Regions from separate parts of the Homo sapiens genome. Here region 2 is linked to region 1. Evidence: promoter capture Hi-C in human tissues and cell types (Jung and others, 2019). All regions are on one chromosome and are shown on one strand. The core of a region is centred on a gene start or on the middle of the fragment in contact, and the rest is flanking DNA. Distances in the headings are between cores, read along the strand shown. Region 1 holds the start of TMEM200B (transmembrane protein 200B). Region 2 overlaps EPB41 (erythrocyte membrane protein band 4.1).

The links. Contacts are between HindIII fragments. The study calls those that stand out against the background at their distance.
Region 2: a fragment that was not itself captured here is called in contact with the fragment with the promoter of TMEM200B in region 1 in 2 of the 25 tissues and cell types used here (H1 embryonic stem cells and heart left ventricle).

The regions. Positions count from the first base shown.
Region 1 is chr1:29,121,220-29,126,008 of GRCh38, forward strand. TMEM200B (transmembrane protein 200B) reads right to left here and starts at 2,684. Exons shown (of 2, transcript NM_001003682.4): 1 at 2,637-2,684; 2 at 1-629. The coding sequence starts at 609. RefSeq lists a silencer at 39-418 and enhancers at 2,098-2,957, 2,958-3,817, 3,818-4,677. The HindIII fragment of the contact is 25,455 bases long and covers 1-4,789 here.
Region 2 is chr1:29,023,234-29,028,022 of GRCh38, forward strand. The region is part of intron 7 of EPB41 (erythrocyte membrane protein band 4.1); the gene reads left to right. Among named protein-coding and RNA genes, the nearest start is that of TMEM200B, 98 kb to the right of the region's middle. The HindIII fragment of the contact is 6,076 bases long and covers 1-4,789 here.

The DNA of each region.
Region 1 (4,789 bases), core at 1,434-3,933:
CACTGACGGGACGGGTGAAGTACCCCGACGCGGGGACGGGTCCCAGATTTCTGGCTCTGCGCAGCCTACGGCTCGGGGACTCCTAGGGCCGGGGCTGGGAAGGAGGGCGCAGTCCCAGCCCGGGCCGTCGGGGGGCCGGAGCGCCTGGGCCCGCAGCACCCCCTGGCGGAGCCGTCGCGTCTCCAAGTCTCGGTTCTCATACAGCAGTGTGTTGGCGCAGATGAACACGAACAGGCCGACGCCCATGATCACCGGCCCGAGGAGCCGCAGCCGCTCGTGCGGGCCGTGAGCCCGGCCCCCGCCGCGACCCTCGCGTCGCAGCTCGCTCATCTGGGGCGAGCTGGCATTGGCGGCCCGGGACCCTGGGGCCCCGGCCCGGTGCGGCCAGTAGCCGGCCACTGCAATGCCCATACCCACCAGTACCACGAGCGCCCCCAGCGCCGCGAACGCCCCCGACGGCGAGCGCAGCCGCAGCCGCGCCCGCACCCGCAGAGGCTCGGGCGGGGAGCGCGGGCGCCGGCGGCGGCCCAGGCGGCGGCCCAAGCGAGAGACGCGGCCCTCGGGGCTCCTCCGCACCTCCCCGCATTCTTCGGGGCTCCCGGCCGTCATCTCGCCGTCGTCTGGGCGCTCTGCGGAGAGAAGATGGGAGGCAAGGACTGGACCGACGGGCCTCTAGCTTCAGGGCGCCAGGTTCGGGGCGCAAATCCGGGAGGGAAGCTCCGGCCGCCCAGCCCAGGCCGCTTGGAGATCCCTGGCGGCCACCCCCGGATTTTCCCGGGCGGCGAGGCGGGGAGCCGCCCGCGCTCGGGTTTTCCGCAGCGGAGCTCCGAGCCAGGCACGCGCGGCAGAAGCCGGAGTTGGCCCGGCCAGCGGGCGGAGAGGAGGGAGGGGGGCGCAGGCTGTTCCCTGGCGCATCCCGGGCTGCAAATCTGCCGCCTGCGTCCGGTCCGCAAGCCCGCGGGTCTTGGGCCTCGGGAAACGTGCGGCCCCCAGCTGCCGCGTCTCCAGGGTAAGTACCTCCCGGGCTCGACCCCACCCCCGCACGTGGCTGCACCGTAGCAAATGGGGCGGGGGCGCTCGGGCCTCCCAGGTCCGCAGGGGTCGCTCGCCGGGCCCCACCTCCCCCCTACTGTGCTTTACATACCGCAGCGCGGGAGGAGGGGGCGTCACCGGCTCCAGCCTCTCCCTGCCCGCCCCCTCCTTCCAGACCTCCTCCGCCCGCAGCGAAGCTGCAGCAGGAGCGACTTGAGCTAGACACCGGGAAGACCGCTCGGATCAAGACCAGCCAGGCAGAGGAGGAGAGGCGGCGCCGACTTCGCCCAAGATTTCCATCAAGTCCACGCATGAGAGGCCTCTCCCTCCCCCAGCGGTCGTGCTGGGGCCACGGCAGCAGGCGGGGGTGCCGGTGCCGGGCGCTGGGCCCCGCCGGACGGATGCCCTCCCGGCTCCCCCGTCGGCCCGGGCAAGGCTGTTCCCAGGTTGCGACGTTTCCAATTCGGGCTCCTCCGGATGAATCATCCCCCTTTCCCGCCGCCTGGCCTCCTTTCCCGCCTCCTCCGCCCGAGGCCTCCGTGGCCCGTGGCCCGGTCAGAGCAGCACCGCCCCTGCGCCTCGGGATCCGGGCCGCACAGCTTAAGCCCTCCCGATTGCTGGCCGCGCCCTGCCTGCGGCCTGTGGCCTGGATCCCGGGCCCAGCAGGAGTAGCCGAGCTGCGTGCGGTGTGGCCCCCACGAAAGGGAGGGCGAGGGAGAAGACGCGGCCCCCGCCCAGGCGCCCCAGGCCGCAGGAGAGGAGGCTCAGGGCCTAGCTGTCCAGGGTCGTCCTCACTGCTCGCGTCCGCTTCCTAAAGAACCACCGCGCTGGAGCCCGCAGCCGAAACCTCGGGGAGGCGGCCTTGCTCCCCGACCCACGCCCCATCTGCACCCCAAACCTCAAAGCAGGACACCCATCCCTGCCTCCGACTGGAGCGCTCAAGGCCCGGGCCTAGCAGGGAGCCGCCACTCTCCCGCGTCCAAAGCCTGGTTTCACAGATTGCAACTACGGCCCAGGGAGGCCGGGGAGACTGCCCGACCCCGCACTAGGCGGGGGCTCTGCCAGGTCCGACGCCGGGCTCCGGGGCCCCAGCCCTAGACCCCTCTCAGGACAGCCACGGGAGTATCCAGGAGGAAGCGAGGCCCATCCCCTCCTTGTCCCTGAGTTTGCAGCCCTTTCCCCAGCCCGCAACCGGAGGAGCGATCATCGCTTCAAGCCAGAACTGGCGCTCTCAGCCCCGGCTCCAGCAAGGTCACCCGGAGCCCCGCGCGTCGCTGCCGCGAGGGAAGCGAAAACAAGCAGAGTGGGGACATGGGGACACGCTCAGAGACCCCGAGCCGTGGAGGTAGTGGGCCGACGCTGGGGACACCAGGGAGGCGGAAACTTGGGGACACAGCGCACAGCCCGACAGAAGATGCTGGGGCCGAGTCCCCAGGACTCCAGGGTCCCGCCACCGCCCGCGTCCACACTCCCGCCTGGGGGAACGGGAGGGCCGCGCTCCCGCCCCCAGGGGCCCTGACCGAGGGAGGGAGGGAGGGAGGGAGGGACCAAACGAAAAGTTGGGAAAAGTGGAGTGCGGACCCCTGGACCCCAGCTCGGCTCACCTGGCGCCGCAGCGCCGCGCGGGTCCGGGTCCCAGTCCGCGCGCGGAGGCTCCAGAGCCGCCCGGGTCTCCACGGCCCGGCCCCAGCCCCGCCCCGGCCCCGCCTCCAGCCCCCGGGACCGTCCGACCCGCGCCGGGCCCGGCCCCACCGCCGCTGAAAGGCGGCAGCTCAGGTCAAAGGATCGCAGGTAGGCGCCCTGTGCGCGCCTGGTGACTCCGGGCACCCGTGGCCCGAGTTCTGCCATCCCCACTCTCCCACCCCCAGCTTACATCGGTCGCAAAGGCCCACAAAGGCGACCCCTTCCTACATGGGGAAACTGAGACCCGGGACCCAGGAGCCCCGACACCCGCACGTCCTTCCCCGCTTCCCAGAGCCCCTCATCCCAGGCGCCCGGGGAGCTTCCAGGAGGAGGCGGCCCGAGTCCCTGCTCTGCCCCGGTCCCGCAGCCCTTGCTGTCGCTGAACCTCGCGGACTTCATCTGTGCAATGGGCACCAAGGCTTCAGCCTCGCAAGATGCCGAGAGGCAAGAGCCAGACGCCAAGGGCCAGCCCGGGGCGACTCCGCAAAGCCCTCAGCGAAAGCAGCGCCCGGGGAGGGGCGGGCCTTGTAGCTGAAAGGACCGGACGGGGTGCGGATGTGCCGCCGGGTACTCCTAAGAACAGGCGCCCCTTCGCCAGTGGGGGAGCGGGCTTGTTCCCAATAACGGGGAGGGTGCTGAGAGCTGCGACCCCGCCGGCGAGCCCGAAGGGGGCGGCCCGGCCTTCGCGCCCTCCCGCCCCTGGAGGCAGGAATGCAGAGCGGGGGAGCCAGGGCGGCCGGCGGTCGGCCCAGTTTCCATGATGCGGGGGGCGGGTTCGGGGGAGGCGGCGACCGATTTCCAGGCTCAGCGGTCAGGCCGGGCCCCCCGGGAGGAATTTCCGGCCTAGGATTGATTAAGGCCCGCCCCTCCCCCCGGCCGTGGAGACCCCCGGCGCGCAGCCGGGGGGAGGGGCGCTAATGAGACCCGGCTGCGCGCCGCGGACAGGGAGGGGACCCGAGGAAGGGGCGGGCCAGGGGCCGGGGCCACCCCCCGACGCGGGGCGGAGCCGGGTCCCGGAGCCGCACGGCCAGGCCAGGCCTTGAACCTGAGCTCCCACCCTCTGGGTCGGCGGAGGAGAGTGGGGGTGCATCAGTGCCCCCCGGGACCCCCTCTTCCAGCTCTTAAAAGCCCCCTCGGGGGGTCGGTGAGGTAACGGGCGGACCAGAGGGACCACAGTGGGGAAGACCGAGCCTCGGCTCCCGGGCTTCATCCCTGCGAGGCCGTGTGCGAGATCGAAGCCAGGGCCTCCTTCTTGCCTCCCCAGTCCGACTGGAGGCTCCTGAGGTCTCGGTCCGCTCCACGGAGGCCTCCCTCCAGCATCTTTGCTTGGGACCCCCGCCCCCATCAATCCTCCGCTTCGTCCACTCCCCGCACACTGACCCCACCGCGGTCGCACCTCCGCCTCCCAGCTCTCCCTCCCACCCCTGGGCTCCCTCAATCCCACTCCATGCCTGCCTCTCCCAGCCCACTGCTCTTCCTCCAATAAGCCCGGCTTCTAGTCTGACTCCCTGGGCCCCTCGATCATCCCCTGCCTCCAGCTCTGTGAAGGGCCCTTTGTCCACCCAAGCACGGGGTCAGCCTTGGCCCCTTCCTCTCCCCCTCTCATCCCACTCACAGAGCCTTGGGGGCCCTGCTCTTTTCATCTGGGGCCAGCCACGTTCTCCCTTTCCCATGGCCACTGTCCTGCTCCGGCGTCCAGGCTCCTCCTGGAGCCCATGGTCTCCTGCCTCCCCGTGTCCTAGTGCGCTGCAGACAGGCAGCAAGGGTTTCCACTCTGAATCTGAGCCTGCCACTACCTGCTTAAAACCATCAGTGACTCCCCAAATCGAGTTGGAAATCTCTTCTTGTCTCCACGAACTGGCCCCGGGCCTCTTACACTCCCTCAGGGCTTGGTTGGTCCTTGCTTTCCGGCAGGAACACTTACCCCCTGGTCGTGCCCTTGCCACCTTCTACACATCCTTCAGACCCTGGGCCTTCCCCCAGCCCCCAGACCAGGTCAGTACCCGCTCTCCTGCTCTGTTGTACACCCTCACAACACCAGCAGCTTCCCTGTGCACCTGCAAACTGAACCCAC
Region 2 (4,789 bases), core at 1,532-4,031, 98 kb before region 1:
ATCTGCCTGCCTTGGCCTGCTAAGGTGCTGGGATTACAGACGTAAGCCACCGTGCTTGGCTGGATTACTGTTACTTTTTAGAAATTTAATAAACATTTTAAATTTTCCTTAGTTAAAACAATTTTAATATAGTGAATACAAATAGCTATAAGCCACATAAAGAAAAGCTCTTGACCGGGCACAGTGGCTCATGCCTGTAATCCCAGCACTTTGGGGGGCCAAGGCAGCCAGATCACCTGAGGTCGGGAGTTCAAGACCAGCCTGACCAACATGGAGAAACCCCATCTCTACTAAAAATACAAAATCAGCCGGGCATGGTAGCACATGCCTGTAATCCCAGCTCCTCAGGAGGCTGAGGCAGGAGAATCGCTTGAACTCGGGAGGCAGAGGTTGCAGTGAACCGAGATCATGCCATTGTACTCCAGCCTGGGCAACAAAAGCAAAACTCCGTCTCAAAAAAAAGAAAAAAGAAAGAAAAGCTCTTTAGGGTCCTCAATAATTTTTACAATAATTGTTAAGAGAATAAAGAGGTCCTGAGATCAAAAAAGTTTGAGAACCACTGAGTTGGGGCAATAGGGCACCATAGTTAAAATCTTGGGCTCTGGAGTTAGCCTTTCTTTAAATTCAGACTCCATTCCTTGTTAACTGTGTGCCTCTTGGTAAGTTACTTAAGCTCTCTAAGCTTCAGTTTTTTCATCTGAAAAATAAGGGCAATAATGTGAATTTTCTAATTGTTAAATCAGAAAATTTATATAAAGTGATTAGTACAATGACAGTATATAGTGAGAGTTCAAATATCTGCTATGATAATAATAATTCTTGGCTGGGCACGGTGGCTCACACCTGTAATCCCAGCATTTTGGGAGGCCAAGGCAGGTGGATCACGAGGTCAAGAGATTGAGACCATCCTAGCCAACATGGTGAAACCCCATCTCTACTGAAAATACAAAAATTAGCTGGGCATGGTGGCGCGCACCTGTAGTCCCAACTACTCTGGAGGCTGAGGCAGGAGAATTGCTTGAACCCAGGAGGCGGAGGTTGCAGTGAGCCGAGATCATGCCACTGCACTCTAGCCTGGGTGACAAAGTAAGACTTCATCTAAAAATAAATAAATTAAAGGCCGAGCGTGGTGGCTCACACCTGTAATCCCAGCACTTTGGGAGGCTGAGGCAGGTGGATCACGAGGTCAGGAGTTCAAGACCAGCCTGGTCAAGATGGTGAAACCCTGTCTCTACTAAAAATACAAAAAATTAGCCGGGCTTGGTGGCACGCGCCTGTAATCCCAGCTACTCCGGAGGCTGAGGCAGAGAATTGCTTAAACCTGGAGGGGCGGAGGTTGCAGTGAGCCGAGATCGCACCACTGCACCCCAGCTGGGCGACAGAGCGAGACTCCGTCTCAAAAAATAAATAAATAAAAAATATAAATAAATATAAATAAAAAAAAATTCTTATCCTCACTTCACAAGTGATGAATGTATGTGTCTTGGTTTGGAGAACTAGTTTTAACCTTTATCAGAATGTAAACCCAATTAGGTGAAACAATCTCAAGGGACAAATGGATATAGTTCAGCTGATATTCTGTTAGAGATGTGGTAGAAATTGAGCAATAATGGATCGCCGTGACCAGAACATTTAGGAGTCTGTCATCTTGGAATTTACTTGCTCCTTTTTGGAAAGATTTGCAACCCTCACAAACCCAAAGGAACAATTTAATTATGTCCAACAACATGGCATTTTAACTAATCCAAAGAAACTTCCACTGAGGCATATGCATTTTACTATGCATTGGAAAGTGCAGTACAAGCACTTCTCAGATAGAAGACAGCCTGCATAAATGGAATCCTTAGTAGTGGCCCTTTGCCCAGACTGGGATTTTAAAGCTATAATTAACACTTTAAATTTACACTAGCAAATCAAGCTTTAAAATTAATTGCCCTCCATTTATTGGTATTAGGAAGGTATGTAAACTTGTCTATTGTCCCCCACTTAATTCTTTGAAATCACAATCCTTAATTAGGAGATATAACAAACATTATTAAAAGGGAGTCACATAACACTGGAACACACCGAATAGCTCTATCCTGATTGCACTTGCTTGAAATAAATGCAGGGAAACTTTATTGTAACTTCTCTTTTTAATGAGCTTTAACCAGTGCCGGAGCTTCCTGGTCAGGTACTTTTGTAAGCTGCAGTACTTACAAGTAGTAAATTATTAGGTGGTACTGAAAAAATTCAAGACAGTACTTTTAATGGTTTAGAGGTATCTAATCTCTTCCCAGCTGGTTTGTTATGACGCTCAAAGGTCTTGGAAATTTTAGGGAAAACCTTGATCATTAAAATTTAAGGCAAAAAATAATTTATTTTGTGATATTAATCTTTCAAATATATGTGTTGTGTTAACATGCACAGATGTCTGTGGGTGGTGAGATTATATATTTTCTATGCTTTTAATGATATTTTCCAAATTTTATACAGTGAATGTGTATGATTTTTATAATCAGATAAAGCTTTCTGGCAACATTAGGTGGGGCAGAGCAAGGTAGTCATCCATGCAGAGGGGCAGTCTGGCTTGGGATATTGAGGCCTAAGCAGAGTGAGGAGTGGGTCCGTGGGTTGGAGGGCAGCCTGGCATGAAGAGTCAGAGCTCAAGTGGATGAGGATGGTAGTCATGTGTGGGCACCTGGTGGTGGGTTTCAGAAGCCAAGCAGAGCAAGAAGGGCATCCATGTGGGGGAAAAGCCTACACAGGATGTGGAGGGCATCCATACAGGGTGGTGCTTGATGCACAGTGTCAAAGCCTAAGCAGGGTGAAGAGATGGTCCCACACCAGCAGTCAGAACCCTGGTGAGGTAAGGAGGACATCCACGTGTGCTGAGTAGCCCAGAATGGGGAATTCAGGGTTCAAGTAGAGTGAGGAGGACATCCACATACAGTAGGGGTTTGTGGCTGCAATGAGAGATTATATGATTATACAGAGGGATTGATCAAATTAGTCAATGTATTCAGGGTAATGGGAGCCAGGTTTCTCACTGTCAGTAAAGTGAGACACAAATTATGGAAAGGGAGAAACTAAAATGAACCCTGTTAGGATATTGCGTTAAAACTGGAGGCTTCAATGTGAACTTGTGGTTTCCAATATATAGATAGGTAGATATAGAAATATAGATGTAAAAAGGTAGATACATACACAGATACATACTCTAACTCTACATTGTGTCAGAAGGAAGTACTGGAAGAATGATGGGAAATGGTCAGAAGGACACAGAATCCAGCTTGGAGAGGTTCCCACTACCAAATCTGGGGCAATTTAAGCATCAAAATAGATAAGGAAAATAATTGATATACTGCATTGAATAAAATGAAAATTCGTGAGTCCATACTGACATAAATAAATAAATTGAAATTTTAAGGCTGGGCATGGTGGCTCATGCCTGTAATTCCAGCACTTTCAGAGGCTGAGGTGGGCTGACTGCTTGAGCCCAAGAGTTCACTTGAACCTGGGAGGTCAAGGCTGCAGTGAACCATGATGGTGCCACTGCACTCCAGTCTGGGTGACAGAGCAAGACCTTGTCTCTTAAAAAAAATTTTTTTTGGCTCACACCTTTAATCCCAGCACTTTGGGAGGCTGAGTTGGGCAGATCACGAGGTGAGGAGTTTGAGATCAGCCTGGCCAATATGGTGAAACCCCATCTCTACTAAAAATACAAAAATTAGCCAGGCATGGTGGCGGGTGCCTGTAGTTCCAGCTACTTGGGAGGCTGAGGCAGAAAAATCACTTGAACCCAGGAGGCAGAGGTTGCAGTTAGCCGAGATCATACCACTGCACTCCAGCCTGGGCAACGGAGTGGGACTCCATCTCAAAAAAAAAAAAAAAATTCTTAAGTTAGAATTACATTTTTTTAAGAATTGTAAAGGGACCTTGTTATGTTGTGCAACCTGAACAACCTGAAGTGCAGTGCTATTTACAGGTGTGATTGTAACTCACTTACAGCCTTAAACTCAAGCAATCTACCTGCCTCAGCCTCCCAAGTAGCTGTGACTACAGGTCACTGCACCCAGCTAAAATTATTCTTTTTCTTTTTTTAGAGACAAGGTCTCTCAACATTTTTTTTTTTTTTGAGATGGAGTTTCATTCGTTGCCCAGGCTGGAGTGCAATGGCGCAATCTCGGCTCACCGAAACCTCTGCCTCCCAGGTTCAAGCGATTCTCCTGCCTCAGCCTCCCAAGTAGCTGGGATTACAGGCATGTGCCACCACGCCCGGCTAATTTTGTACTTTTAGTAGAGATGGGGTTTCTCCATGTTGGTCAGGCTGGTCTCAAACTCCCAACCTCAGGTGATCCGCCCACCTCGGCCTCCCAAAGTGCTGGGATTATAGGCATGAGCCACCGCGCCTGGCTGAGACAAGGTCTCTCTATGTCGCCTAGGCTCATAGACTCAAGCAATCCTCCTGTCTCAGCCTCCAGAGTAGCTAGGACTATAGGTGCATGCCACTGAGCCTGGCTAAAAATTAGGTAAAAAATTTTAAATGCAAACATCAGCCAAACTTCAAATATAAATATTATTTTCAACTAACAAGTTTTAAAGATCTCCCCTTATTTATTTATTTGTGAGACGGAGTTTCGCTCTTGTTGCCCAGGCTGGGGTGCAATGACGCAATCTCGGCTCACCACAACCTCTGCCTCCCAGGTTCAAGTGATTCTCCTGCCTCAGCCTCCTAAGTAGCTGAGATTACAGGCATGCGCCACCACGCCCAGCTAATTTTGTATTTTTAGTAGAGACGGGGTTTCTC